Regions from separate parts of the Homo sapiens genome. Here regions 2, 3, 4, 5, 6 and 7 are each linked to region 1. The links are contacts of gene promoters, found by promoter capture Hi-C in blood cells and fetal thymus (Javierre and others, 2016). All regions are on one chromosome and are shown on one strand. Each heading gives the region's core, a stretch centred on a gene start or on the middle of the fragment in contact. The rest is flanking DNA. Distances are from core to core; before and after follow the strand shown.

What was found. The method cuts DNA at HindIII sites, captures the fragments that hold promoters and counts their contacts. A CHiCAGO score of 5 or more calls a contact.
Region 2: a contact is called between a fragment that was not itself captured here and the fragment with the promoter of IRS2 in region 1, in 6 of 17 cell types (M0 macrophages, naive CD4 T cells, M2 macrophages and 3 more). The highest score is 7.5, in M0 macrophages.
Region 3: a fragment that was not itself captured here is called in contact with the fragment with the promoter of IRS2 in region 1 in 1 of 17 cell types (endothelial precursors); the score reaches 5.6 in endothelial precursors.
Region 4: a fragment that was not itself captured here is called in contact with the fragment with the promoter of IRS2 in region 1 in 1 of 17 cell types (M1 macrophages); the score reaches 5.2 in M1 macrophages.
Region 5: a fragment that was not itself captured here is called in contact with the fragment with the promoter of IRS2 in region 1 in 3 of 17 cell types (M0 macrophages, M1 macrophages and megakaryocytes); the score reaches 8.0 in M0 macrophages.
Region 6: a contact is called between a fragment that was not itself captured here and the fragment with the promoter of IRS2 in region 1, in 6 of 17 cell types (M0 macrophages, M2 macrophages, M1 macrophages and 3 more). The highest score is 13.0, in M0 macrophages.
Region 7: a fragment that was not itself captured here is called in contact with the fragment with the promoter of IRS2 in region 1 in 1 of 17 cell types (monocytes); the score reaches 5.2 in monocytes.

The regions. Positions count from the first base shown.
Region 1 is chr13:109,784,562-109,788,738 of GRCh38, forward strand. IRS2 (insulin receptor substrate 2) reads right to left here and starts at 2,022. Exons shown (of 2, transcript NM_003749.3): 1 at 1-2,022. The coding sequence starts at 1,492. LOC124903211 (WAS/WASL-interacting protein family member 1-like) reads left to right here and starts at 2,523. Exons shown (of 2, transcript XM_047430835.1): 1 at 2,523-2,884; 2 at 3,039-4,177. The coding sequence starts at 2,532. The coding sequence ends at 3,276. RefSeq lists an enhancer at 529-1,158 and silencers at 2,000-2,229, 2,250-2,419. The HindIII fragment of the contact is 25,501 bases long and covers 1-4,177 here.
Region 2 is chr13:108,968,592-108,972,768 of GRCh38, forward strand. All of the region lies in intron 20 of MYO16 (myosin XVI), which reads left to right. Among named protein-coding and RNA genes, the nearest start is that of MYO16-AS2, 130 kb to the right of the region's middle. The HindIII fragment of the contact is 8,355 bases long and covers 1-4,177 here.
Region 3 is chr13:108,985,794-108,989,970 of GRCh38, forward strand. The region is part of intron 20 of MYO16 (myosin XVI); the gene reads left to right. Among named protein-coding and RNA genes, the nearest start is that of MYO16-AS2, 110 kb to the right of the region's middle. The HindIII fragment of the contact is 4,460 bases long and covers 1-3,922 here.
Region 4 is chr13:109,111,401-109,115,577 of GRCh38, forward strand. All of the region lies in intron 28 of MYO16 (myosin XVI), which reads left to right. Among named protein-coding and RNA genes, the nearest start is that of MYO16-AS2, 12 kb to the left of the region's middle. The HindIII fragment of the contact is 844 bases long and covers 1,748-2,591 here.
Region 5 is chr13:109,132,157-109,136,333 of GRCh38, forward strand. All of the region lies in intron 31 of MYO16 (myosin XVI), which reads left to right. Among named protein-coding and RNA genes, the nearest start is that of MYO16-AS2, 32 kb to the left of the region's middle. The HindIII fragment of the contact is 3,529 bases long and covers 56-3,584 here.
Region 6 is chr13:109,149,157-109,153,333 of GRCh38, forward strand. The region is part of intron 32 of MYO16 (myosin XVI); the gene reads left to right. It overlaps LOC105370356 (a long non-coding RNA gene), which reads right to left. Exons shown (of 5, transcript XR_931717.3): 2 at 612-2,926. Among named protein-coding and RNA genes, the nearest start is that of MYO16-AS1, 16 kb to the right of the region's middle. The HindIII fragment of the contact is 5,221 bases long and covers 1-4,177 here.
Region 7 is chr13:109,184,274-109,188,450 of GRCh38, forward strand. All of the region lies in intron 34 of MYO16 (myosin XVI), which reads left to right. LOC124903207 (a long non-coding RNA gene) reads right to left here. Exons shown (of 2, transcript XR_007063864.1): 2 at 1-4,177. Among named protein-coding and RNA genes, the nearest start is that of MYO16-AS1, 19 kb to the left of the region's middle. The HindIII fragment of the contact is 1,184 bases long and covers 1,144-2,327 here.

The sequences.
Region 1 (4,177 bases), core at 772-3,271:
TGAAGCCGGGGTCGCTGGGGGAGCCCGAGGCGGAGGCGCTGCCGCTGGAGGGCCGCTGGCCGGGGCCGTGGTGCAGCGGATGCGGCAGAGGCGGGTGCGGGCCGGGCGGCGGCGGGTAGGAGCCCGAGCCGTGGCCGCTGCTGGACGACAGGGAGCCGGGGCTGGTGGCGGCGGGCGGCGAGTGCGCCACGGGCATGGACATGGAGCGGCTGTGTTGCAGCGCGCCCCCTGCCGGCAGCAGCGCCACCTTGCTCCCGCGGCCGCCGCAGCCGCCGCTCAGGGTGTGCGAGCGGCTCAGGGGCGCGCGCACCGGCCCGGGGCTCAGGGGGCTCCCAGCCACCGACACCGGCCTGGCGCCCGCGGCCGCCGCTCCCGCCGCCGCGCCGCCGTCGCCCTCGCTGGCGGTGCGCACCCGGCACGAGCTGCACTTGGCCGCCGGCGGGGTGGCGGCCAGGCTGTCGGTGCGCGAGCGGCGCACCAGGCCCGTCTGGCTGGGGGGCAGGTTGACCAGGTGGTGGTGGCGGCGCGCGCCGGGGACGCTGATGGGGTGCGTGGCCGACGACCCCGACGATTGGCTCTTACTGCGCGGCCGGAACTCGAAGAGCTCCTTGAGCGCCTTCATGGCCTCCAGGATGGTCTCGTGGATGTTCTGCGCCACCACCGAGTCGTCCGCCTGCATCCACAGCTCGCCGGGGCCTGTGACGGCCGAGCGGCCCACCTCGATGAAGAAGAAGCTGTCCGAGTGGCCGCAGCGGCGGATGTTCATGAGCTGCAGCGTCACCGACGGCTGCTCGCAGTTGAGCTTCACGAAGCCGATGGTGCGCGCAGACAGGCACAGACGGTACACCCCCGTCAGGTTCTTGCTCTGGCCCAGACCCTTGGGCTTCAGGTTCACCTGCCACACCTCACGGTAGGCGGCCGTGGCGGGAGCCACCAGCCCGTAGCTGTCCTCGGCCCCGGCGGCGCCGGCAGAGCCGCCCAGGGCGCCGGGCAGGGAGGCGCTGCAGGACGCGGCGGGCGCGGCGGCGGGGGGCGCGTCTCCGGCGGCCGCGCGGCCCTCGCTGACCAGGTCGGTGAGCGCGCGGTACCAGCCCTCCTGCTCCTGCTCGTTCTCGGCGGCCACGGCGAAGTACTCGTCCTTGGTGTAGAGGGCGATCAGGTACTTGTGCTTGGCGTCGGCGCGCTTGTTGATGTTCAGGCAGCAGTCGAGAGCGATCACCCGTTTCGGCGCGCCTGCCTTGCTCCGCCACTTTTTCTCGCTCTCGTAGTACTCGAGCCGCGGCGGTTGCGGCGCCGACCCCCCGCCCGCCGTCGCCTCGTCGCCGCCCGCGCCGGGTCCGCGCAGCACGAAGAAGCGCTTGTGGCCATGCTTCTGCTTGCGCAGGTAGCCGCACTTGCGCACGCTGTGGTTGTTGTTGTTGTTGTTGTTGTTGAGGTTGGGGCCGTCTCCGCTCGCCGGCCCGGGCGGCCCGTGCCGCGGCGGGCTCGCCATCGCGGGCGCTTCAGGCCGCGCGGCCCGGGCCCGGCGCCCAGGGGTTGGGGCGAGGGGCGGAGGGGGCGCGGGCGGGGGCGGCTCCCTCCCACCCTTGCGCCCGGCCGCCCGCCCGATCACGCGTCCCTCGGGCCCAGGCGGTGGGGAAGGTCCGGGGAGGCCCGCGGGGGCCAGCACCGCTCGGCGGCGCCGCGCCCTCCGCGCTCTGGGGCTCCTGAGGATGCCCGGCGCGGGCGGTGGCCGCCCCCCTCCCCGGCTGCCTGCGGCCGCTGCCTCCTCGGGCTCTCGGGCGGCGCCGGGGGACGCGCTCGCTGGGCCGGGAGTCGGGGTCCCCGAGCCGCGGGGCCGAGCCTAAGGCGCGCGCGGCCGCACCGGGGCTGCTGCCGCCGCGTCGCGCTCCGGGAAGCCGGGGTGCGCCCGGGCGCTCGGGGTCCGCGCCGCCGCCGGGGCTGCTGCTGCTGCTGGTGTTGCTGCTGCTGCTGCCAACGGCGACCCGGGCTCGTCGCGGTCCCCGCCGCACAGTGAGTAACACATCGCGCACCGAGTGACTGAACTAAGAAGAGCAAAACAACATGTGACTCGGCGTTACGCAGGCACACACAGCGCGGCCGCCCCGCCCCGCTGCCTCGCATTGGCGCCGCGCCCCCCGACGGACGGCGCGCTCGGCCAATCGGCGCGGCGCTCGCGGGGGCGGGCCGCGCGCCCCCGCCCCGCCCCCCTTTCTCCCCGGGCCGCGTTTCCCGCCGTCCCCTCCCCCTCCCGCGAAGGCCCCGGCCCGGCCGGGCGGGGTGGGGCGGCCCCGGCCTCATTAATCAGCGGCTTGTTGTGGATGCCGGCGGAGGAGATGCCACCCAGGGCGGGAAAAGGGGCGCGGAAGAGGGGCGGGGCGGGCCACGGCGCGCAGGGCCCTTCCCTCCCGCCTCGGACTCAATTAATTGGGCTTGAGCTTCCGCCGGGGAGGGGGCGCCGGGCGGGGCCGCGGCTGGGCGGGGCGGGGGATCGGGATCGGCGGCGGGGGCTGCGGCCTTGCAGTGGAAGCATGGGCGGCGAGCCGGGCCGTGCTCTCGGGGCGCGGGGTCCCCATTTTGGGCGAGGGCGGCCGCTCCCGCGCTCGGGGTGGGCGCGCCCCATCCCCGTCCCCCGTTTCCCGTCCCCGTCTCCCGGCCGCATCTCCGTCCCCCCGCAGCCGCGAAACGCGGGGAGGTTCCAGGGCCCGCGGCCGCGGGTTCGCGAGCACCGCGCTCCAGATCGAGAGCGGCGCGCGCCCTTCCGTGGAGGACAGAGGGGCGCGGAGGGGGCGCCTGTGTCCCACCCGCTCGCGGGCGCTTTACGGGGCGTCCTCTGCGCCATTCACTTGTCAGCTTGTCGGGAAGTTGAAATCGCGTTTGGGAGGTAATAGGAGAAAGAGATCGGGGACGGCAGGCGGAGAAAGTGCGGTTTCCATAGCGCCGGGGAGAGGGCGGACCCGCGAGCCAGCGGTCCCTGAGCCGGGAGACCGCGCGGGCGTCTCTCCAGCCCCCGCAGGAGCGCCGCCTTCCTTCCGCAGGGGCGTCCTCTCCCCCCACCGCTGCAGGAGCACCCCCTTCCTTCCTCGGAAGCGTCCTCTCACCACACCGCTTCAAGAGCCCCCCCTTCCTTCCACAGGGGCGTCCTTTCCCCCTCCGAGGCAGGAGCGCCCCTTTTCCCCCCACAGGAGCGCCCTCCCCACCCCAGGAGCGCCCTGCGCCCAGCAGACGGGCAGGTGGGCGGGCGTCCACTACCTGTGTGCGCGGTGCGGGCGGTGACTGCCAAGTTGGAGATGCCCTTGGAGAACTGCTTCGAATTCATGTATCTACTGGGCTTTTGTGACTTTCAAAGCCTATAGCAAATAAGCACCCCTGCAATTACGTCTCCTCAATGACCAAGTCAGGGTGAGGTGAGGGCTTCCTGAGTTCAGATCCCAGCAAGCTCCCGATCCTGCGCAACGAAGAAAACTCAACAAAACAGGCTTTGGCTGTTTATTTTATTTTTTTTTTAATTGTGCCTTCATGAAATAATTTACAGCAATAATTTATCTTATAATATTGGTTATTGTTTTTAAGTCCCGGATGTTTACTTTTGGATGTCCTCTATAATTCATAGAAGTATCTTAAAAGTAATAAAATCTTAATCTAAGAGAAAATAAGTGTAATTTTTGAAAGAGTGATATATATTTTAATATGTTTTTGTAACATGTGACTTGAAGATTGTGTTGGCTAATTTTATGTGCCAAGAGAGCCCTGACTAGTACAAAGATTATAGCGTTTTTATTTTTAGCATGTATACAGTTAGGATTATTGATCAGTAGCCTGAATTTGGGAAGAATAATCATTGTGGCAAATATCACCCAGTGTGCCTCAAAAAGGTGTGTTTAAAGTTGATCTTCCATTTTTAAATCATACCTTAAAAAAAAATACCTCAAGAAATGCCATTTTAAGTCTGTGCACCTATGTGTGCATGTGTGCGTGTTTGTTTATATAATAGATTGTGTGATTGTGTGTGTATAGGTATGTGTGTATGATTGTGTGTGTTGGGGGCGCCACCTTTATGAACATTATGCTTCGGCGTTCTTTTTAGATCTTGTTACCTTTTCTTACGTTCACAAATGTTGCCTAGCAATATGTCTAGTCAGGAAAGATGAAGGGATTCTTATCTTGGTGCTTGAAG
Region 2 (4,177 bases), core at 1,151-3,650, 820 kb before region 1:
GTCCCACCTGGGCAACAAGAGCAAAATTCCATCTCAAAAGAAAAAAAAAGACAATGGAGTAAGGCATTTGGGAGTCAAAATAGCAATTTGATGAGTGACACAGCAGACATGAGAAGATGCCATTTACACCATGAACCAGTTGCTCCTGCCTGCTGCGCCCCTGACTCAGATCGACATCACCACCAGTTCCAGTAAGCCCTGAAGTGGCCAGTGCCCTCTTAGAGCTTGGAGGAGCAGAGGCCATGACGTGCTCCCCACGAACGCAGGAAGACTGCCCTGAGCCCTCCTTGTCCAGGCTTCCTCCTAGACTCTGAGGGAATAAGTTGGTCTTCCAGAAGCCAAGAGACTTACAGCTAAAGGGGCTTCCTTTTCCTGTAAGAAAACCTCAAGACTGTGAATAAGCATCTCCACCTAGCACATGTGAGTCCATGAACTTGAAAGATTGAGGGACAGTCTAATGCACAAAGGTATGTGGGCTTTGAGACTCCCATTTTGAGTGAGTTGGATCTTTTTTTGTTGTTGTTCTCTAGTGTTTTCGAGAGTATAGCCCTGAACTTGTCTGGCCACTAGGCATATGGAAGACCCATGTAGTTTATTCATAACTTGCCATCAGTTCACATTAAATTGATCACATTTAGCAATGAAAATATAATCTTAAATTACATCAAATTATTTCTAAAGAAAAACTAATAAAGTTGTTAAGTTTGTTTTGACTTTTCTAAAATTGTTTAGCCTCTGCATCTCTGTGAATTGTCAGCTGACACCCAATGACCACCGAAGGTATTAACAAAGTCCTTGTTTAAACCATTTGGAGAACCCATACATAGATTCCCATAATTTCACATATAGAAAATTGGCACCCACTGATGAACAGGGATGCCATGGATCTTCCATTCCACTCTCTTCACTGTCCACTTTTCCCCCAGTGGATCCAAAGGCGTGTGGCCCTCTCTTCCCACAGATAACAGCCATTCTCCCCAAGGAGGCATCACCTCCACTCGGGTGTTTCATGAATTCCACCCAGACCAAAGCCATGCTCTGCTCATTCTTTTTAGGAATTGTGAGGTTGCCAGGGCTTCTTTTACAGTGTTAGCACGTTTGAGAGGCAAACAGCACCATTGTAGGGCTTCCCAAATGAGCTCAATCACCTCTCTGCCCGACTACAGCAATCACATCGAGAACTGCGGATTGTTAAATATTTTTTTTTCTATAGCTCTGAATAGGTTTCTACCCAGGGTTTCACCACTGTGATTTAGAGCATCATCTTAAGAACACACCTTGTGAGACAGAGAGGATTTGGTGTAGAATTTTCTTAACACTTCTCCTCTTTCATGGTCTGTTTTGCCTCATTACTGAAGAAACCCTTTTCCATTTTGTGATACTAGCTGGCTGTTTCTAATGTAATATTGAAAGGCTTCCATTAAGTATTTGCCATTCTTTTGCTTAAGAAAATTGCAAACCTTTGAACCAGATAGCTGGGGGAACACGTTAAAATTACTGTTGATCTGAAAGGGCAGCATTATGGATAATATTATGGTGGCTGCCAGAAATGTGTCTGTTTTATGGTGGTCAACATTATAGGCAGAATTGTTCACAACTTTTCAAACTGAGTTGCCTTATACTTATTTCAGTGTAACCAAATTAACCATTATATGAAACCATTCTCACTTGTTTTGGTGTAACGCTATTAAAAAAGCATGACTTGTGGTATAATGAAAACATGTTTTCTAATGTCCCACCTCCTTTTCACATTTATTCAATGGGGGTAATATTTTTCTGACTCTGAGATAAAACTTAATCAGGTCCCGAGACTTTTCTGGTCACTTTTAAATAAATCACAGTTCTATGGACGCTTTAATCCTGAAATAGCCAGCATTGGAGCAGAAATTAAGTATGTTCAAAGGTGAGAGTTCCCCTCCCTCTCCCACAGGCAAGGCCTGCGGGGGCAGCTGTCATGCTCCTGGGCTGCCGCACCCCAGTGTCGAGGTAAAATAGGGACAGGAACAAGGAGGTGAGGGATTTCTGGACTTGCTGATTGACATCTTAAGGCTTTCCTGGCCACGAACATGGCTGTCACTGACCCTTTCTCTTCAAATCCTCATAAATTGTCATCACTGGGATTCCTTTCCCTGCAATCCTCAAGACGTGTGAAATGCATGTGTGTGTGCTGGTTGCTCCCACCCCCTCCGATAGTCCAGGGCAACCCTTCAGACTCAGGTTCACCTGGCTAATAGGTTGAGGCCCCACACTTTCCCAAGTGTGCCTCTTAGACAAGAATTCTTGGGGTTGAAGGTAGAGAGGGGCTAAAGAATGGGAAAGTGTCTTGAGGAGTTGTACACACTCCAGTTGCTCACTTTTTATAAACAAAGTCCATGATCTAAAGTGTATTTAATTTTTATAAAGGATATCATCCATAGGATTCTGAAATGAGATACATGATTGGAGCTACTAAAGTATAATGAAAAATAACTGTTTTAAAAAAAGATCAATAATTTTTGCAAGCTCTAAAATTGGGCCTATTTTATAACGCAGCACTTACATCCCCAAGATTGAATTAGCAAATGTTAAATTCAATGTTAAATTTAAAATTATTGTTTTTCCTCATTTGAATCCTTCTTCAGGGTTTTGCAAGCACATAGAAGTTTGGGCAAGTACAGGGTTATAGAAACTTTGGAGTGTTCTCCAAATGCCTTCAAACATCAAAACCTATCATTTATTTCAACATCAGTTCTGAATAAAATGGTGTGTGTGTGTTGATTATATATATATATATATATATATATACACATATAATCTACATGTATGTGGATATATTATCTATATCTGTCTATCTATCTATCAGTCATCTCTCTATCTATCTAGTCTACAGTAATCCTATAGAGGGTTATTTGAGTATACTTTTATTCATTCATTCATTCTTGTCAACTTGATATGACATCCACTTTTTTGGGCAGCATAACTGGACTAATATATTATTAATAATGTTAAATATTATGTATATTAATACATTAAAATAAGTTGAGTTTCTAACATATATATGGAGATCATTTTTTCACTAAGCCTTTGGTTTCTTATGAATTCTTATATTACATTCTTATAGTATTTTAGTTGACCTAAACATAAACATTTAAAAATATTATGATTAATCGCATTGATTTCTCATGAGTTAGTTATTTGGTTATCCAAGCCTGTTTCTTTGACACCCAGGTTACAAAAACTTGTTTATTTTTCAGGGTTATTTGAAGGTTAAATGAGGTGGTGCATATTAAGTTGTTAGGAGAGTATCTGACACAATGGGAATGGTGGCTGTAATGATAATAGTGATGGGGCTAGGCGTGGTGGCTCATGCCTGTAATCCCAGCATTTTGGAAGGCTGAGGTGGGTGGATCACTTAGGTGTTTGAGACCATGTTAGGCAACATGGTGAAACCCCATCTCTACCCCACCCCCCAAAAAAATACAAAAAAGTTAGCCAGGTGTGATGGTACATACCTGTGGTCCCAGCTACTTGGGAACTGCTGAGGTGGGAGAATTGCTTCAGCCCAGGACGGTGAGTCTGCAGTGAGTCATGATTGCACCACTCCACTCCAGCCTGGATGACAGACTGAGACCCTGTCTCTCTCTCTCTCTCTCTCTCTCTCTCTCTCTCTCTCTCTCTCTATATATATATATATATATATATATATATATTTACCAGCCACAGCCATCACTATATGTATGTGTGTATATATATAGCCATCTATATATATATATATATAGCCATATATATATATATATATATATATATATATATATATATATATATATAGTGGCTGGTAAGAAAGCATCTTAGTTTATATTAGCTTATTTATGGGGAAGGGGAGAGTTGTAGAAAACAATGCAGATGACTCACATGGTGGACACCCAAGATGCAGCCCAGTCTTCCTTTTACATTTCACTCGTGATCTTTTTGTTTCACAGAGTAGCAGATAAGGGAGATATTTTGTTCTTGGGAAATAGATATATCAGGATTCACAGAACACTATTAGAGATAGGGGCATTGTTTTTTAGTGTTTTGCTCGGGTGTGACTTGTAGTAAGCGAGGATCATCGATTTGCATTGCTCAACTGCCACTCTTTCTCTTAGGGCACAGGTCTGACATGTTTGTAACATGCCTGTCTAGGGTCCAGAGTGGTTTG
Region 3 (4,177 bases), core at 443-2,942, 800 kb before region 1:
TTAACAAATATTTATCTAATAATCTATCACAGTGCATAGTTGTGATCCAAGTGAGCATACATTTTGTTTGTTTGTTTTCTACTGTTTTATTGACGTATGTATTAGTCTGTTTTCACGCTGCTGATAAAGACATACCCGAGACTGGGTAATTTATTAAGAAAAAGAGGTTTAATGGACTCACAGTTCCACATGGCTAGGGAGGCCTCACAATCATGGCAGAAGGCGAAGGAGGAGCAGAGGCACATCTTACATGGCAGCAGGCAAGAGAGCGTGTGCAAAAGGAACCACCTTTTATAAAACCATCAGATCTCGTGAGACTTATTCACTATCATGAGATTATCGTGAGAAAAATCTGTCCCCATGATTCGATTACCTCCCAAGGGGTCCTTCCCATGACACATGGGGATTATGGGAGCTACAGTTCAAGATGAGATTTGGGTGGGAACACAGCCAAACCATATCAAGGTAGAACATAGCTACAGTGCACGTTATGTGTAAAGTTCAGTATATTTTTATACATGTAATCTCCATAAAGACTAAGATGTAGTCTGGGCATGGTGGCTCATGGCTGTAATCCCAGCACTTAAGGGAGGCTGAGGTGGATGGATCACCTGAGGTCAGGAGTTTGAGACCAGCCTGGCCAACATGGAGAAACTCTGTCTCTACTAAAAAAACAAAATTAGCTGTGTGTGGTGGCACATGCTTTTAATCCCAGCTACTCAGGAGGCTGAGGCAGGAAAATCACTTGAACCCGGGAGGCGGAGGTTGTGGTGAGCCGAGATGGTGCTATTGCACTCCAGCCTGGGCAACAAGAGCGAAACTCCGTCTCAAAAAAAAAAAAAAAAAAAAAAAAGATAGTATTCAGGCTTTTAAAGTCTGAGTGTGGCTTTCACTAATATGAAGGATATAATTGATCTGTTATTATGTATACTCTTCTCACTACTACAGTTATTGATGAACTGCTCACTTTCTTATCTCAAATGCAGACAGTGCCCTTTTTGGTTTCTGAGGAGAACAGAATTAGACTCGGGTGTAAGACCACCAATTGGAAATAGTTTTCTGCAGAGCTTCATAGAACTTACAGACACAGGCCCTACAGCTAGATGGCCAAGTTCAAATGCTTGGTCTATCTAATACTCATCTGTGTTTGGGGGCAGCTTACTTCACCATTCTGTATCTCAGTATTCCCTAGGATTAAATGAGGAGAGGCATTTTTAAATGCTCCTAACAGTGCTTTGTGCACGGGACTCCAGTGTTGACCTACATCCTGGATTTTCTCTAAGTCTAATTAACTGCAATGTTCCTCGCAAGGGGTCCGCAGTTCTGTACTTCCTAACATATATTTCTGTGGGGAAAGGTGCAGGGAATGACTGCATCTAGGAAGATGCTAGTTTGTACAATACCATATAGAATAGAGAAGGCCGGACGGCCTCTCTGGTTACTCCCAGCCTCTAGTGCAACTGTCAGAATTGCAAAGGCTTTCCATAATTTCTGGCATGGTTGCAGAAAGTGAGAAGTCTCAAGTACTTTCTTCAAAGAATAAAAGAGAGGAACCCCCAAAAGTATGCAATCCTAGAGTCCCACTTCTTCCCCCCAAGTTTCTCTCATAGACTAAAAAACACCCTGAGAGGTTGAAATAAGGTAAGATTTAAGCAGGGTTCACCTCCACAGCGAGGCATCAGGCCAATTAAGGAAAGCAAAACTTTTTGTAAATGAATAAATCAGCATATTGACAGGGCAGTTGGTGAATGCCATAGCATAGCTCGGCATCTCCAGGGACTTTCTGGCACTAGCCTCTATGTACGTGCAGCTGATCCCAAGGGCAGTAAGTCTGGACAAGATTGCTCACGTCTGGAATGTGTTTATATTTAATTCTTGCCCCATCTGGGGTCCTACTGGTCTAACTCAGTCTAAGGGTTTTTGTGCCAAGCAGGGTTAAGCTACTTCCTAAACTGACTACTTGGAGAACTCTCTAGGGAATCTCCTTGCCTGAGGATAATTGAGGACAAAAGCTGCCTTGTACACACCATCAGATTGTTCTGCTCAGATGAAGTGAGTTTACCCGTGTTCTAAGATAGGCATTCTCTTTAATTCAGTCCTTTCTCCACTCTATATCTATCTACATAAAAGGTAAAATGAAAACCAGACTGATGTCTTGGCGTTTAATATTTTGTCTGATGTAAAGGGTGTTGCATTTTACTAATATGTCAATGCAAGCTGACAGTTTTGTTAACTATCAAGAAAGCTCTCGGGAGAATTCTAAGGCAGAATTTGAACTGAAACAGATCATCTAATTCATATGTTAATTTTGCCTATAGGATTGAGTCTTGGCTGGATCACATGACCTCTCTGCTCCCAGTTGTCAGAAATTGAATGTTAAGTTAAATGCCTGTGGAATAGGAGTCAGATATCAATAAGGGGAATGACAGTCAGGTCAACTGCTACGTAGTATGGGCGTTTTGCTGGCTGAAAGTTTTTATTACTATCCTGCCAATGTTGCTATTGCAGTAACAGACGCATATTTCAGTCATAAATGATGAAATAAATTATTTTAAATGATCATGTTATGCCTGTCAGTAATTGCAAAAGTCGTCCTTAAAATGCTTTAAACTTGCATTTAGTTTTTCTCCTGACAATGGAATTTTCTTTTTTTTTTAAAACCAAATATGTTTGGATTCAGTATCTATAAAATGTGAAAAAAAGCATTTAGGAGGAATACCCTTCCAATCAAATGTATGCCACTCTAAATTACCAATTAATAATTCACTTTCCCCAATGTGAACCCATCCTTTAATGATTTTGCCCACCCACACATGCCACAGTGGCCAAATAATCTCTTCTCTGTGTGTTGATGCAATTTGCCATCCTTGTAAGGGAGGGAGGTAGGTATGAAGTGACATGGTGTCACTGATCTCTGCTGCTCTTTTCCCTAAATTCTATCAAAACAATATGCCATGATTATAGGGTCTCTTCTGCCAAGGTCAACTGGGAAGCAAGGAGGGTAATCGGACCTGAGAGCCTGACATAGGGACCCTGATGTCAGTGGATAGAGAGGCATCTGTGCTCGGGACCAGCACCCGGCCTTCAGGGGAGAGACCCAGTGCTTTTTCTCCTTATTCCTGAAGTTGTCCCTGCATCGGCAGCATCTCTTACCACTGGCAAAACCAGACACTTTTCTCCTACCACGATGGGGCTCTAGTATCCCCTCTCTGCCCTTAAGGTTATTGGTGTCAATTTTCTCTACAAAATTAGAAAATGCCCAAATATATTTTTTAAATGAGGTTAAAGATAAATATTCTTATAATACTAGTATAGAACATTTAAGAAATTAAGAAATCACCTCCAGGTCTACCATCTTATTACAGGTACTGTTAACATAGATTTTATTTTTCCTGTGGCTTAGGTTTATTTGACATAGTTCAAATTATACTTTAAGAATACTAAAGGTATACATTTTGTTTCTGGCTTTTGTTTTGGGATTAATGTTGTTCATGAACATTTCCTATGTTTTCATATTACCTTTATATACACATCAATGAAATATTTGCTGGTTATAAAAATATATGTTTCAATATAGAAACCTTAGAAAGTGGGGAATAGTTAAAAGAAGTAAACAAAGCAATATCTCCATTTCCTCTTTCAAGGCTCACTCTATTTCTTTCCAGGCCTTCTGGATATATAATTGGGGTTATTCTTTATACAGAATTTATATATTGCTTTCTTAATTTATCATAGGGTTCATGCTATTTAATTAATTGTGTTTTTAGTGTGGGATATAAATAAATGTTTCTTTTTGTAGTTATAGTAATTAAGATAACAATGAACATCCTTGTTGATAAGTCTTTAAAAGCATTTCTCATAGTCTTCTTGGAATAGGTTCCTATATATGGAAGTACTGGTTCAAATGATATGAATATTGCAAAGCTTTATAACTAAATTGTTTTTGAGGAAGGCTCTACCGATTTAAACTGTCAGAAAAAGTATATAGGAAAATATCTTTCTCATTCTAATTTTTTTCAGATTGTATTTCTTTGTAATTTTAATAAGATTGATACTTTTAAAAAACTTATTTTTTAAAAAAGAGGCAACTTTTTGGAAACACTATATAACAGCTATTTGTTTTAGAACTTTGCATCACCTCTAATTCTAGCAATGATCTAGCTGGACAAATTTTACT
Region 4 (4,177 bases), core at 920-3,419, 670 kb before region 1:
ATTTACATTGCTGGGCACTTTAAAAAATACTAGGGCATTTTTCCAGAATACTGATATGTGAAAGATGTGACTACTTTTGATGCAACTACGATAGTACATATCCTTTGAAAAAGCTGGAAGTATTTACTAGACTAGGGCTGTTTTTAGAGCAAGAGGGGTTAACATTTTTAAAGATTAATTTTGTATGAAAATGAAGCATTTTAATTGCAGAAAAGAAGCTAGCATTCACAGTAAGACCTTTCTCATTAAAATATAATCTATGTTAATAAAATATTCCAATGATTGTAGACTTTTTTTTTTTTTTGAGACGGAGTCTTGCTCTGTTGCCCAGGCTGGAGTGCAGTGGCACAATCTCAGCTCACTGCAACCTCCGCCTCCCAGGTTCAAGCAATTCTCCTGCCTCAGCCTCCCAAGTAGCTGGGACTACAGGCACGTGCCACCACGCCCGGCTAATTTTTTGTATTTTTAGTAGAGACAGGGTTTCACCATGTTAGCCAGGATGGTCTCAATCTCCTGACCTCATGATCCACCCACCTCGGCCTCCCAAAGTGCTGGGATTACAGGCATGAGCCTCCATGCCCGGCCGATTGTAGACTTAAAAATAAAGGGATAGCATCTAACCCAATCCTGACAACAGTAATGATATTATTCAGTGAAAACTCCATTCATAAGAATGCTATGGGCCCTGTACAATATATAAAGAAGGTTCACATTGGTTTTCTGCTTCAGGAGAGTATACGGGAAGCTAAAATAATAGTAAATAGCATCTCTTTTAGAGAAATAAAAAAGGGTTAGCTCATATTATGGAGGGCTTTATAGGCAACATAAAATCATTGAAGTTTCTAGAAGACCAATAAATTGAAGTCAGTGTGCAAGGTGAGTTAAAAAGCAGATAAAGGAGAGATGATGAGTTAAATTCTAGATTTTAGTCGGTAATAATCCTATATCAGAGGTGATGGCACTGGAAATATGAAACTCAGCATCTTTGTTTCTTTAATCCTATTAGATGTATTTTAATAAAATAAATCAAATAGTTTAAATAAGTTGAAAATATTTAAGATTTAATTTTTGATGGCCGGGCATGGTGGCTCATGCCTATAATCCTAGCACTTTGGGAGGCCGAGGCAGGTGGTTCACCTGGGGTCAGGAGTTCGAGACCAGCCTGACCAACATGGAGAAACCCTGTTTCCACTAAAAATACAAAATTAGCCAGGCACGGTGGCGCATGCCTGTAATCCCAGCTACTCAGGAGGCTGAAGCAGGAGAATTGCTTGAACCTGGGAGAAGGAGGTTGTGGTGAGCCGAGATCATGCCATTGCACTCCAGCCTGGGCGAAACTCTGCCAAAAAAAAAATAATTTTTGTAGACAAATGAAATTTTAAATATCTGAGGTCATGTTATAGCAAGTGCTTATTCAAAGCATTTTTTAAAATTCTGCCTTCTCCATTGTACACATCCATTTACTTTCATTTCCTTCACCTTAATACATGTGAATTATGAGCTTTATACTTTTCCAACATTATCTGAGCTTATAAATATCTCACAGTTAAGTTGAATAGTCAGACAGATACACAAATAAGAAGAAAACCAGGACTTCAGTGCTACTGTAGAGATGTATACAAGGTACACTAGTGACATGGATGTACTACTGTAATTGATTTATTATTATAAGATACACACTAAACAGGAGAAAAATGAATTCCCACTTTGGATCAGAAAGCAATATGATATAGTTGGAGAGTAAGTAAGCTTGAATGTATTGAATAAGTTCTAGAAGCCTACTATACAACATTTCACTGCTATTTAACAACACTGCATTATATGCTTAAAATTTTATTAAGAGGCTAGATATCAGGCTAAGTGTTCTTACCGCAAATTTTAGAGGGAAGGTGAGGGAGGGAGGGATGGAGAGAGGAAGAAGGAAGGGAGGAAGGAAGGAAAAGAAGGAAGGAAGAGAGGGAGGAAGGGAGGGAGGAGACTAAAAGGGCCATACAATAAAAAAGTCTAATAAACCTTTCAAAGGCATTTGAACATCATCCTGAAAATCATTACAGGCCACTAAATAATTTTAGACAAGAAAGGAACATAATGAGATTGATATTTAGAAAGATCACGCTGAATATAGTTTAAAAAATGGACGCATGTAGACCCATGATAATTTATGGAGCTACTGAAATTATTCATAGAAGTAAACAGGAAGTGGGTTCTAGAAACCTCAATAGAACTTATGACTAAATGGGGACTGGGAGAAAAGCTGTAAACATACTTAGGTGATGCTTGGGGTTCTGGCTTGGGTGATGAGGTGATGACGACTCCATTAGCCTAGAAAGGCAAGAGTGGGTAGGGATGGATGAGATGGGAAAGTGTGGGAGAAATGACCTGTGGAAATCTTTAGGGCTTGAGGTGCTCAGGGAACACCCAGGTAGATGGTCCTTTTGGTCACTGAGCTAGAGAATCCAGGATAAGATGGAAACATATGAGTGAGGCTAGGGTGCCTATGAAACATCGACATAAATGTGTGCACAAGGAGATGGGCTCCATAGGTATGGACTCGGGGATAAGATGAGCTCTCACGAGCAGTCTGTATTGAAAGCTTTTGGAATAATGAACTTACCAGGAAGATGATGAAAAGTAAGAGGAGAATTCAGTGAAGAACTCTGAGGATAGCTAACTTTTCACTGGGGAGCAGCAACATAGCAGCTTTGGACAAACATTGGAACAGAGATGACAGACACACAGAGCAGGGGACCAGGTGAGCTTGTCAAAGAAGTTAAGCTTCAAGAAAAGAGAGTGACCCAGGGTCTTACTCCTGAAAATGTGGTCCACAGACCACCGTCACCGACATCATTTAGGAATGTGTTAGAAATGCAGAATGAATCACTGGCCCCATCCCAACCCACTGGAACAGAATCTACATTTTGACAAGATCCCAAGCGATTAATATGCATTTTTCAGTTTGAGACTTTATAGGATCAAGGGTGTGTGCTTCTTTTAGTCTGGAGCCTAGAGAGCTCCGATTCATCTTATCTCTGGCACTAACTTTCTGTGTGGACTGTGTGAATGTCATACGTCCTCTCTAAAACATACCTTTTTCTCTTGAAAACTGAAGAGGTTGATCAAGATGATTTCTGAGATCTAACTAGAACAGTGTGGGTTATGGGCACTCTGTTTCTTTGCACCTCCTTTGTAGATTATTAATCCTACTAGTGTAGTCTATTGTGGATATCACAAGTGCACATTTCCTTAGAGGAAATTGTACTATTATTCCGAAATAAATTCTATCCAATTTTCTATGTCTCCATAAGTAACTGAAGTGTTTTATGTTGTTTTAATTGACGTGTCCTTCTTCTGTCAAAGCAGAACCATGTGACCTGAGCTTTCTCCTTTACTTTACCTGCATGGGAAACAATTACTGATTGTATTTTTTAGTAGCAGTAAATGAGTAAACTAAATTAAGTGACACATACAATACAAATAATATATGCCTCTTCAACTCCCAAAGAATGCATAGATATAACAAAATGAGAGGCGTCACTATTTTTCTAAACTACCAATATGTAAGAAGAGTTCTACATTAGATGTTTTTCTCAATTTCATTAATATAGAGAGAAATGTGCATCATAGAAAAATATCAAAGGATAATAGCTATATTTTTCCTTTGTAAATGCTATTTCAAAAGTACTGCCAGAAACACTCAGCACTCCTAAAAATTGTCTTTTAAAAAAAAAGAAGTGCTCTACAGGTTCCCTTGAAGTCTCTACTAACACAGCTTCCGTGCCACCTACACTCTAGCACAACCACCGTTCCAGCATTTGTCTGTACCTCCACAGCCTACACCTCTCAAAAAAAAAAAAAAAAAAAAAAAAAAAACACCTAAAAATTGTAACAGTAATTGGAGCTTTGGAAGTCATCAATGACAATTTTGTTTAATCTTTTAAAATCTGTCACCTAACAAGAAAAAAAACCTAATGGTTTTCTAATAAAAATAGCGATGACTGTAATTCACAGATGGTTTACTTTTACAGGAGTCAGAATGACATTAACATTTTAATCTCAGCTAGGAACACTCTGCATCTAGCAGTGCACAGGGAGAGGGCTCAGTTGGAGAACATTTTAACCTCTCCTTTTCTCTGCTAGTGAGAAACATTCTTTGATGTGAGAATGCCACCAAAATGAA
Region 5 (4,177 bases), core at 570-3,069, 650 kb before region 1:
GTGGTGCTGTGCCTGGCTTGGAGTGACGGTTGCTCAAGGTGAAATTGCAGAAGCAAGCTTTTCTCAGGCAGCTCTAGTCCTCACTGTTCACCGTTCTATGTTGATGCTTCCACACTCACCCTCCCTTCAGACTCCAGCTGTCCCCTCCTTGGGGATCATACCTTAATGAAACCATAATTGTTTTTTCCAAAATTGCTGTACAACTGCATTCTCCACAAAACACAGTTTACATGTGTAGACACAATCATGGCTCAGCTCTGTGGCTTAATTTGGAAATAATATGTCTTTTCTTTACTCTCTTGTTTCTGTCTTCATTCTAGAACAACATGTGTCACATAGTAAGCACTCATCAAATACTTACCAAGTGAATACATGTTACAGAAATCTATTTCTCTACACTCTCTTCATTAAAAGAGAATTTGCTTCCTATCGGTATATGAGAGGGAGCACAATTTGGCAAGGTTCGAGAAGTACCCTTGAAATGTGTCAAGGCTAGATTTGTCTGCATATTTTTAACAGAAGCCCTTTAAAAAAATTTTAAATGGACAGAAATTAGGTCTTCTGTGTTGCTCTTCTGAGAAATGTGTTACTGGGAATAACAGAACACAATTGCACAGTTCACCACCTATGACGCAGTTGTACATCCAACAAATAGTAATTAAGTGTCTTCCATGAGCCTGGATTCTCCCCGAGGATCTGACAGACCAGTAGGAGAGATAAGTGGTCAAACAAATTATAGGGGAAGCACAACCACAGCAGTGAGGACGTGATGGGTGCACACTGGGCCACAGAGTGCCTTGCCCTCCGTGGAAACTGCGAAAGGCTCAGGAAGGGCATGCCAACAGCATCGAGTGCAGTAGTGCAGTCAAGAGGGTAAAAGATGGGGGCATGGAAGGCAATGGTATTGCCTGAACCGCTCCTCCCACCAGGAAAGAAAAGTTATAACAAAGTTGCGACATATGACAGCTCAGTAGAAGTCCTTTCTGTCCATTTTGCAGCTGGTTGTAAATCTATCCTACATCCACTCATGTACGCAGCCTCAGCAGTCAGCTAGCAGGCACTTAATTAAGCATCTTTTTTGTCCTAGGTCCTGTGCTCTGTGCTATGTTTGCTTTCGCTCTGAAACTAGCACAACCACACTAGAAGTGTTGGAAAATGGAGGAGAGTTACACACGCAGACACTGTTTATTTTGGATGAACAAGCATCTCATTCCTCCTTTTTCTCATAGATTAACTATGCAGGTATTTTGTTCTTGTGAGAATGGGACCAAATAACTTATGCACAGAAGATGACTTAAAAGTCACCGACATGCCTTAGCAAAAATACCAAATGGAAAATACTTTGTAGGAGAAAATGTTGATCTCCTAACGTGACACACATGTCCGTATCATTCTGCAGCAGTTCAGATAAGAGGCAACTTTATGATGTAATGAGATGGCTTCAGAATGTAGTCTAACTCCTAAGCTACTGTTAGGATCCCAGAACCTGCCCTAAAAGTATTCTGTGATCATGGACTGTCTTCCCTACTTCATCTCATTGACTTTATCAAGTAGTTGCAAACATTTTATGCATCAATATTAGAACAAAAAAATAAGAAAACTCTTGATGTAAATTCATTTTTAATAACCCTCTAACCAGTATTTGCAAATGAACTTTTAGCACGTGTACACATGCACACACACCCGGAAGTAGCCACAAACCAAATTAGACTTTAATTTGTTAACTGTGGTTTTCTAATTTCAGTTTATAAAGAATGAATATTTCCAGTTCTGACCCCCAGAGGTTCCATTTTAATTGTTATGGAGTAGAACAGGATAATGCACTCTAGTCATCTGATGTTACTGAACCCCAGACCACACTTTAAGGAACAGTTCTATCTCTCACAGTAAGTTTCTGGTTGTGTAGCGGTGATAATGTCGATCATGATGGATACTTAGTGATGTTTATCATGTGCAGGCATTAAGCTAAGTATCTTTCATCTGTAGAATAGCCCTACCTAGTAGGACTGTCATCATGACCCTATGTAGAGAAGGGCATTAAGTCACTGATCAATGGTGTAACTTGTCCTGTGTCACATAGGCAAGTTTGGACCCTTGAGTCAGGTTCTCAACAGCCTCCCAACAAACATGCTACTTTTATTTATAATTGTTTAATGCAAAAAGGCTCTTCACCGCATCTGAATCAAACTTTGAGGGAATACTGTACCAGTTATGTGTTTTTGCATAACAACCCACCCAGAACTTACAGGTTTACATAAAGTAGTGATTGTTTTACTATCCCTCTCAGGCTCTGGGTGTCAACAGAGATCACTGGAGCAGTTGTCACTCTCGGTCCTTCATGCAGCAAGGTGGCTGGAATCATCTGAAAGCTGGTCACGGGCATGTCTGGTGCCTCAGCCATCTGAGGACTGTGACTCCTTGGGTGTCTCTCTCTGTCTGTGTGGTCTCTCTGCATTGCCTGGGCAGCATGACAGCTTCAGGGTATCCAACTTCTTACAGGGAGAGTCAGTGCTTCAGGGGCATGTGCTTTGGGAGAGAGAAAGCAGTAGATGCAGCATCGCTTTCAGGGAGCCAGTTTTGGGAGGTGAGCAAACTCCCTTCTGCCACGTTCCTTCCATCACCTCAGTCCCAAACACCAAACCAGGTTTAGGAAAGGAGAAACAGATTCTACCTCTGGAAAGGATATACTGTGGTGGCCAAGGTGTTGGAAAGTACCATCTGTATCAGTCCACCCTCTGGACAAAACAATTTGTATCCCTCTGTCATACAAACTATACTCACCCCTACCCCAGACTCCCCAAAGCCTCCTTCATCATCTCATCTGGCTCAGGTTCAAGGGCCAGATCGCATCGTCTAAACCAGATCCACATGTGCCGGTGCCTCCGGTACGATTCCTGAGAGAGACAGCGCCTCAAGTGTGTCCTCTTCTAACTGAAGACTTGTGGCCTAAAAAGACAAGTTGCCTGATCCCCCCACACAAGCAAAATGCATCAGAGGGACAGGTAGAGAATAACTGATGCATGCTTCTGCTCAGACACAGGAGGGAGATCAGGCGACACACAGTGGTCATTGGTGGGTAGCAGTTGTGAACAAGAGCTGGATGCATGTTGCTTATGCCTTCATGAGGATGAACAAGAGCTGGATGCATGTTGCTTATGCCTTCATGAGGATTTAGTCCAGTTCCCAGGCTGGAAATAATTTTCCGTAGCTCTTAGGTCTATGTTCTGGAATCTTGGTTCCCCACTTTTTGACTAATAATTCCCAATCCACAAGAGGTGACTTATGTTTGGGGCTAGTAGTTTTTTCAGCCTGCTTCTTCCTTATCAGGGTTGTGTTGTTGCTGTTGTTTAGAGGTGAGGTCTTGCTATGTTGTCCAAGCTGGAGTGCAGTGGCTATTCACAGGTATGAGCATAACGCACTGCAGCCTTGAGCTCCTAGCCTGAAGTGATTCTCTTGTTCAGCTTCTGGAGCAATTGGGACTGCAGGCTCACATTGCACCTCGCCAAAATTTTGAGAGACCAAAGTTTCTTCATTTTTGTGTTCAGGCTGCTCCTTTCAGTGTAAACTGATAACATTCATTTAAAAGCTTTGTGACTTTCTTGTGAATCAATTCATAATCCACCTGATTAGTCAAAAGCCACACCCACAAATCTTTCTGAGATAATCTCTTCTCTATCTGGAAGCTCACTGAGTACTTCCGTGGGTCAGTGCCCTTGATATTCTTAGAAGACCTGTGGTTTTGCTTCCTTGAAAAGACCTATGAAGCCCCTCCTTGATTTTTTCTGTGTACTTCATGAAGGGTCTCATAAGTGTGTGCTTGACTTCATCTTTAGATCATGTTTTTCTGAAAATTCCCTGAATTTTATTTCTGCTTGGAAGTCATTTCTTTTCTTTCTTTCTCCTTCCTTCCTTCCTTCCTTCTTTCCTTCCTTCCTTCCTTCCTTTTTTTGTTTTTGAGATGGAGTCTCACTCTGTTGCCCAGGCTGGAATGCAGTGGCGCAATCTTGGTTCTCCGCAACCTCCACCTCCCAGGATCAAGTGATTCTCCTGCCTCAGCCTCCCAAGTAGCTGAGACCACAAGCACGTGCCACCATACCTGGCTAATTTGTGTATTTTTAGTAGAGACAGTTTTCAACATATTGTTGAAAGGCTGGTCTTGAACTCCTGACCTTGTGAT
Region 6 (4,177 bases), core at 884-3,383, 640 kb before region 1:
AAAGAGCCAGAGGAAGAAAATGAACAAAAACCATAGCAGCGCTTCTAGGTGCATACGTATAATGGGAAATACTCAGATATACACTGTGACGTGTTAATGGCATCCTGGTCATAATATAAACAGCTATTTGTAAGTGGCTCTCTCCTGTTGACCAAGCACATTGACGTCTCCTTTCTCCCCCTGGACCCTTGCGTCTCAGTGAGGCGGGTAAAGCAGGTGTTACCATCCCTATTTATTAATGAGCAATCTGAGACTTTGAGGGATTAAGTGATTTTCCCATAATCACAAAAACTAATCAGTCTCAAAGTCAGGAATCAAACACATCTCCTTTCTCCAAACCCTGGATTCTTTCTATTATGCCCTTCATAGTCTCTGAAAACAATAAAATTAAAATAATGATACAAGGTCTCTGTTTGAGAAAGGAATTCCCCTCTGAAGTTAAACACAAACTCATTGCCAGGAAAACATGTGGGAGGCGGACAGATAAAACTGTTTTGCCCATTGTCAATGTCCCACCAGACATCACTTTTGAAACAGAGCATGTTCTTCGTGTGCCCCCTGCCTTCTCCTCCTCTTTTTCTCCCCTTTCCTGGAAAATCCTTTCTACCCACCTGCCATAAAATACCTTCTGCAGTACCAGGGATGCACAGCACACGTGATAGACTAGGATTATTCCTCACATCCAAAACTCGTGTCTCCTCACTTTCCGTTTCTCTTTTTCTTGGCCTCTTTAAAGTTTTACTTGGGACTGAGTTCCTAATTACTGAAAAGAAATTCACACTGAAATTGTACTCACTTGCAGAGTAGCCCAGCATATTTTTTGTAGGACACATATGACTTGCTGGGGATGTGGACTTCAACCTCATAAGTGGGGTGTCAGATGCCTGCCCCAGACCCACCAGAAATTAAATGGGTGGTGGGCCCTCACCTAGCACCAGGAACCATGCTAAGAACTGTACAGACAGATGATCAGCAGTGATTCTCAATAGCGACCATGATTGGAACAGGGGAAAGACAGACAATCAAAAAGTCTTCATCGTTTGTCTCTACAGCAACTTTCTTTAAACAGGCAAAAATCCATTCCTTTCTCAATTATGTGTACGTAGAAACCGACATCGGTAACAGCAAAGTGAGAAACATGACTAAATAAAGCCAGGGCTATACTCACAGCCCCTCAATAAATATTTGTTGGGAAAATATAAAGCTCATTGCTCTCGTGACTATGCTGTTCCCGCTAGGTCATGCCACTTCATTATTCTTTGAAACCGAGGAGCAAAACCAAGCAGAAGGTTATGACTATTAAATATTTAGATCAATCTGATCAAAAAGGTACCCTATGAATTGCATGAACTGTCCTGAGAAATTACCTTAACATATTAGCTGTAAATCTGCGGCAGCTAGCATGTCAGTCAGACCAGAGATACGTATCTAGCGTAAAGAGGTTATCATTTTTTAGATTAACCAAATGCAACAAAGAAGCCTTTACAACCGGGATGCTCTATAATGCACCGTCAGTGGGGAAAGGATCTATTGCACCTGAAATTCTGAAAATAAGGCAGACTTCTCAGAAGTGGATTCTCTTTCATAACCAGTAAATATTTTTCATACTATCAACCCACTAAAGCAAGCAGCTATTGTATATTGTGTCTCTACACTGGATTGCAAATTAAACTCCCACTGGGGGCTCTAAAGAGAAATCCAGCCCTTTATCCTCTAAGCCACTCAGCAGCTCTCCTTAAGCAAGTTAATAAAGACCTTCCTGACTATCTGCATCTCATTATTGCCACATAATACAATATCCTGGGGTTTTCTTCCTTTTGTGAAGAAATGCTTAGAAGCAACATGGTGCATGGAATATTGTCCTAAAGAGAGACTGGGCAGGTGCCATGCTCTTTCTCTCCTGAAGAGTATTGGAAGAGAAAAACCTATTTCCCAATTACCTACCAGTGTTTAGGCTCCTTATGCCTGACTTCAGTCATTTTTATGATTAATCCCCAGATTAGCCTACAAAATTTCACGCCATCGAGAGTGAGCTATATTCAATATCACTTCACCCAGTGCTTCATTCCATGAATCAACACAGCCGTCCACCATGTACTCTGTGCAGAGCTTCTCAGGCCTTTACTGACTCCATCCTGGTTTCTCCTTGAAATCTTCAGTTTTCATACTTAGACCCTGTACATGGGCAATTAGTGGCCATTTGCAAATTTAATAACACATGTTAATTATGACAATAAACAATATGATTCATTTCTCTCCTCCACGCAAATGACTAAGTTCTAAACTATGCAGAGCCCAAACAAGGTCAGACATGAACTAGATCCGAGACTTGCACTGATTTACAGCAGAACACTGACTGCGAGAGACACCTGAGAATTTGTGCATTACCTGAAGTCCTAAAAGCCCAAAAAGAGCTTCTTCATACTGAAAACTCTGGCTCAAAATCAAACATAACCCTTCAAAAGAAATCTCCATTTTTAAGCAGGAAGAAGTGATATATGCACAATTGGTACATGAGGGTGTGTCCCTGAAAAATATGTATGTTTTGGATTTTGGCTTTATTATTTTCCTTTTATGTGAAAAGCTGGATAAACTGGGAAGAAGTAAGTGAAAATGAGAAGACTTAGGCAAAGCAATGAGTGAAAACTTTCACCATACAGGCCTTTCCATGTCACTAAAAAGCAAACCAAAGCTCACAGCTATGAAGTTACTTGCTGAGGCCACATCCGTTTGGTGACGTTACATTCCCTTAACTTCAGCTCTCAGGCGAGATGACGTGCTGGAGGGGGTCAGACTGGCTTTAACAGCAGGATGGAGGGGACATACAGGAGTGCAAACAACCAACTTAAAGTAGGTGGCCTCCATCGTACTTCTGCCAGTTCACAGATCCTTTCTTAAGTAAATAACCAGTGCCCAGCAGCAGATCCTATAAGGCAAAATAGCATACATTTTTAAAATTTTTTATGAGAATTTGATTGACTCTGTCTCTTGGTATTTAACTACCTTTGTATATATTACCAGTAATAAAGCCCCCTTAGTAACAAAGTCCCCTTAGATTTTTAATTGCTAAATTGCCTTTCGAGTAACTATTTCAGTCTTTAAGGAAAGAGAAGCTACGGGACCTTGATTTCGGAGATAGGAGCACACTCTTGGTGTTGTTCTAGTTCCTTCTAATCACACCCTATTTGCACCACATAAACATTAGCACAACTAGAGATCTGGTTGAATCACTTACATGTCATTCCAGACAGTAAAACTCTAATCGTGAACATTAATTTCACTGATGTAGTTGCAGCTTAGTAGGGGGTCGCCACCATTCACTTACCCAGGCTTGAAGTTATCTCTAATTTAGAGGTTAGGGACAGTGACACAGGAAAGAGGCTCTGTGCTTTATATCTGGAGATGTGGGATCATAAAAACGTCTTTTTAATCTGATGATCATTAAAACACCCGGTGATGTGGCACAGCTGCTAATCGGAATACATTTCCATTTCTGCGGGGATTGAGCATGTCTTCGGAACCCTCTGCAATAGCTTTAGAAACAAACGTTCCTTTTATCAGGTGAGAAAACTACCCTATGGCATGCCTCCGGATATGTAGTTCTTCCTAGGCTACAAAATATCAGAGGTTAACTTCAGGCAAAATGATAAAACTAGCAGTAGTATTTCCTATTACTATCTGCAGTTTGCTTCAAAATTTCAAAAAGGTTTCGGAAAAATCACTAAATACGAAGGGCACACTTCATTCATTTATTCCAAGGAATCTATTTGGTGCCAGACATTGCATGGAATTGTATGGATTTTTAAAATGAAATGTGGGCTCTCTCTTAAGCAGACCATGGCAAGGAAACTTGAAAACTCCGACGCATCCAGGGGACGAGACTCACATTTTACATAGAGATACTACTCGGGATTCACAAAACACGACGTATCCATGACGCTCGTTCAACACTGCATTTTTACTCATGGTATTCTGTTCTCTTTCATTTTAAAGTGCGTGTCATGACCCACTAAATTGATTTCTCAGCTCACAAATATGTCCTCTGAAACACTGGTCTACAGGGGAGGATTTATACGGGCAAATAGGAAACAAAATCTCCAAAGAGAAAGCATCAGAACAAGAGGAGGTTGTCCTCTTGTGTGCTAGAAGCCACTGTGTGCCTTATCCTGCACAGTAA
Region 7 (4,177 bases), core at 486-2,985, 600 kb before region 1:
GAATCCGTACTCACCACTCGTGACTTACAGATTATGTGCAAAAAATGAAGGTAGTAAATTAAGTTGATGTGTGAAATGGCAGCATTTTCAACAGGGAAAGGTCATGTCCAGTAGAGATAAATAGAAATTTAGAAAATAAAAAACAAAAACATATCCTATATTTTGTATTTTTCCATCATAAAATTGCACTGTATTTATTAATGCAACATAAGTGTATATAAATGCACAGTTTTTTCTGATTAAGACACTATTTATTATCAGTGAGGAGGATTTAATTGCCATAAATTTTGAGAAAATAAGAAGTCAGAGTAGTGACTATGTTTTTTTTTGTTTGTGTGTGTGTTTGAGATAGTCTCCCTCTGTCCCAGGCTGGAGTTCAGTGGCGCAATCTCGGCTCACTGCAACCTCCACCTCCCAGGTTCAAGTGATTCTTCTGCCTCAGCCTCCCAAGTAGTTGGGATTACAGGCGCGTGCCACCACACTTGGCTAATTTTTTTCTTTTTTTTTTTGAAATGGATGGAGCCTCACTCTGTTGCCCGGGCTGGAGTGCAGTGGCACAATCTCAGCTCACTGCAACCTGCACCTCCCAGGTTCAAGCGATTCTCCTGCCTCAGCCTCCTGAGTAGCTGGGGCTACAGGCACATGCCATCATGCTCGGCTAATTTTTTATATACTTTTTTCAGTAGAGACGGGGTTTCACCATGTTGGTCAGGCTGGTCTCAAACTCCTGACCTCAAATGATTTGCCCCCCTCCCTCCCAAAGTGTTATTACAGGAGTGAGCCACCGCACCTGGCTGTGACTACATTTTTAAAGAGGAAAAAGTCTTGTGATATTTCTGCAAGCTCACCTTCTAGATGGGAAACCTGCAGTTAGCAATATTATTGTATAGTGGAGGAGTAACAAAGTAATTAGAAACATTTGGCTAACTATAAATTCTAGGTAACAACAATTTCAATATTAATTTAATTGGTTTTTAAAGTGAAGAAAATAAGAAAAGAACTAGATAAGAATCCCAGATTCATCATTCATCATGTAAGTGCACAAAAAAGTAATTTTGGGGGTCAATTAGAGAAAATATATGTAACATGCCTAGCATGATGCTGCCTGGAATACTGTAGGTGCTTAAAAAAAAAAAAGCTAAAAGCTTACTTGCTCTTGTTATTATGGTATTCCTTTCTTTGCAGGGTCAATATTCTGAAAACCAGTTCTGATTTTAACATTGTAGATGCTATCCAAAATATGGAGGAGATTAGATTGGATCAAGAGAACCCAATATTTTTCTGGGATTTTGGTCAAATCTATTATATGTGTGATTTTTAAAATATGATTTATTATGGAATAGTATAAACTTAAAAAACAGTGATTAATGAAACATCACCTTTAATAAGTCTTAACATTTTGCATTATTTACTTTAGAGCTACATTTTTGGAAAAACATGTATCCTAGCTCTCAATCTCATCCCTGCCTACCACACCAGAAGTGAATCATCACAATGAAGTTTGCACGTAGCCCTTCATCCATGTTTGCACCTTTACTGAGCATAGGTGTACTCATAAATCATATAATATTCACAAGTAATAACCAATGCTATTCATGCTTTCAAAGTGTAAAAAAAAATCTCACTTTCTACAGATTATTCTGCAAACAGCTTCTTGTTTTTGCTGTGGTGGGACTTTTTTTTCCATTTTGATACATGCATCTCCCACTTGTTATTTTATTCTAAGAATTAGCTCCAGGTGAAATGTACAGACTTTAGGGTTAACAACTGTAGTCCCCGCTACTTGGGAGGCTGAGGCAAGAGGATCACTTGAGCTCAGGAGACTGAGGCTGCAGTGAGCTGTCTTCACACCATTGCATTCCAGCCTAAGCAACAGAGACCGTGTCTCAAAAAAAAATTAAATTAAAAAACAACTTTAGGGCTGAGGTATCGATACAATAAGAAACTATTGATGACCGACACATACTTAGTGCAAAATTATACTCATATTCCTTCAACAAGCATGGCAGGGAGCAAGCTCAGGAGGAGAGGAAAGCATTAGGGACTGAAGGGCAGGTGTCACACGACCTGCTGCTGCTGGCCCTAGGGTGCTGTGGTGCCTCAGGGGGACAGATGAGCACAAGGCAGATGGTGTTTTCCTCTGGTCTGTTGTGTTGTGGTCCACAGAAAACCTAATTCAGTGATCTCCATGAAAGGTGCAGGGAGATCGATGATGCTCTGTGCTCAGTGCCAATATGCAGGTCATATTGTAGTTTACAACTTCACTAGAGGGCTAGAAGTTACAGCACCCAAGGAAGTGAGCATACATTCTGGCCAGTGCCTCTATAAGCTTTTCAACACACACACACACACACACACAAACACACACAATCATATTGCTTTTTAGGTGCAAACATGCCTCCTTCATTGGAAACTTTTCTGAGAAACAAGTTCCATATAAATGTGGTCATGGCATTTCTTAAGAACATGTTTACAGTTTGACCAAAGTGAGTGGAAAACTTACATCAAAATCATTTCCAAGTTATCAATGTTACAAGCCATGCTACAATTAACATCACTGAAAATGCCTCTAACTTACAACTGGGGGAAACAAAAAAATTGCCCAAGATTCCCCTAGAAATGGAAGTGCTAAGTTTCTGCTCATGGACATTTTCAACTGTAGTGGTTATTACCAAATTACTCCCCTAAAAGGTTAAACCAATGTATGTACTTCTAAAAGGGAGTAAAGTTTTCCATCTCTCCTGGTAAACACTTGGTTTAATTATTCATTTAATTTTTGCCAATATGATAAATGTAAAATGGATCTTATTGTGGTTTTATTTTATTTCCTGGTTGCCAAGCAGTATTTTCACATATTCTCAGACTTGTTAATCCAAATACATCCTTTTCTTATTTCCCAACTTGTTTGCATGATTTTCTTGATGATGTTAGGAATTTTCCACATATTCTGGATAATATTCCTTGCCAGTTTCATGCATGGCAAACATTTTGCTTATTGTGTTTTCTTGGTCGGTTTAGCTAGAAGTCTATCAATTCTATTGATTTTTTTAAAGTAGCTTTTGATTTCATTGATTTTCTCTATTGTTTTACTGTTTTATTGATTCCTGTTGTTTTTTATTTTCTTTTCTTTTGCTTGCTTTGGGCTTAATTTTCTCTATTTCTGCTTTCTTAAATAGGTAGCATAGATCACTGACTTGAAGTGTTTCTTTTCTTCCTAATAAAAGCATTTAATAGAGTTGTAAATTTCCATCTCAACACTGTAATAGCTGCATCCCACAAATCTTAATTTGTTTTGTTTCCATTTTCATTCAGTTCAAAATATTTTCTAATTTCCCATGGGACTTTCTCTTTGGCTAATACTGATGCTTTCCAAGTATTTGGGGTTTTCCAGGTACCTTTCTGCTGCTGAATTCTAGTTTAATTCCCCTATGATCTGAGGGTATGCCTTGTATGATTTCAGTTCTCTTAAATGTACTAAAATGTTTTTATGGCCCAGGATATGACCTGTCTGGCTGAAATTTCCTTGGGCACTTCAACAAAAATATGTATTCTGCTTCCATTGGGTGGAGTCTTCTGGAAGTGTGGATTAGGTCTGGTTGGTTACTTGTGTCCACATCCATGTCTCTGCTGGCTTTCTGTGTTCATTTTTCATCTATTCCTGAGAGAAGAGCACAGAAGTCTCCAACTATACTGTGGCTTTGTCCACACCTTTCGGTTTCATCAGTTTTTGCCTCATGCATTTGGAAGCTATATTTGAGATACAAAGACTTTTAAAATTATTGCATCTTTTTTGGTGAAGATCTATTCATCATTATACAATTTCATTTTTTATTTGTATTTCTTTGTCTTAAGTCTACTTTGTCTGAAATTAATATAGCCACTCCATTATTTTGTTCATTGTCTGCAAGGTATATTTTTTCATCCTTTACTTTTTAAAAATAGCTTTATCAAGATATAATTCACATACCACACAACCCGTGCCTTTAAGTTATGAAAATTCAGTGTTTCTTCGTAACTTCTTAATGTTGTGCAACTATCTCTACAATGTAATTTTAGAACTTTTTGCCTCCTCCCCACAAAAAATTCACCCCTTCACTTTAATGTATTCATCTTTCTATATTTGACATGAGATTTCTGTAGGCAACATAACAGATGAGTCTTATTTATTTTTATCCAA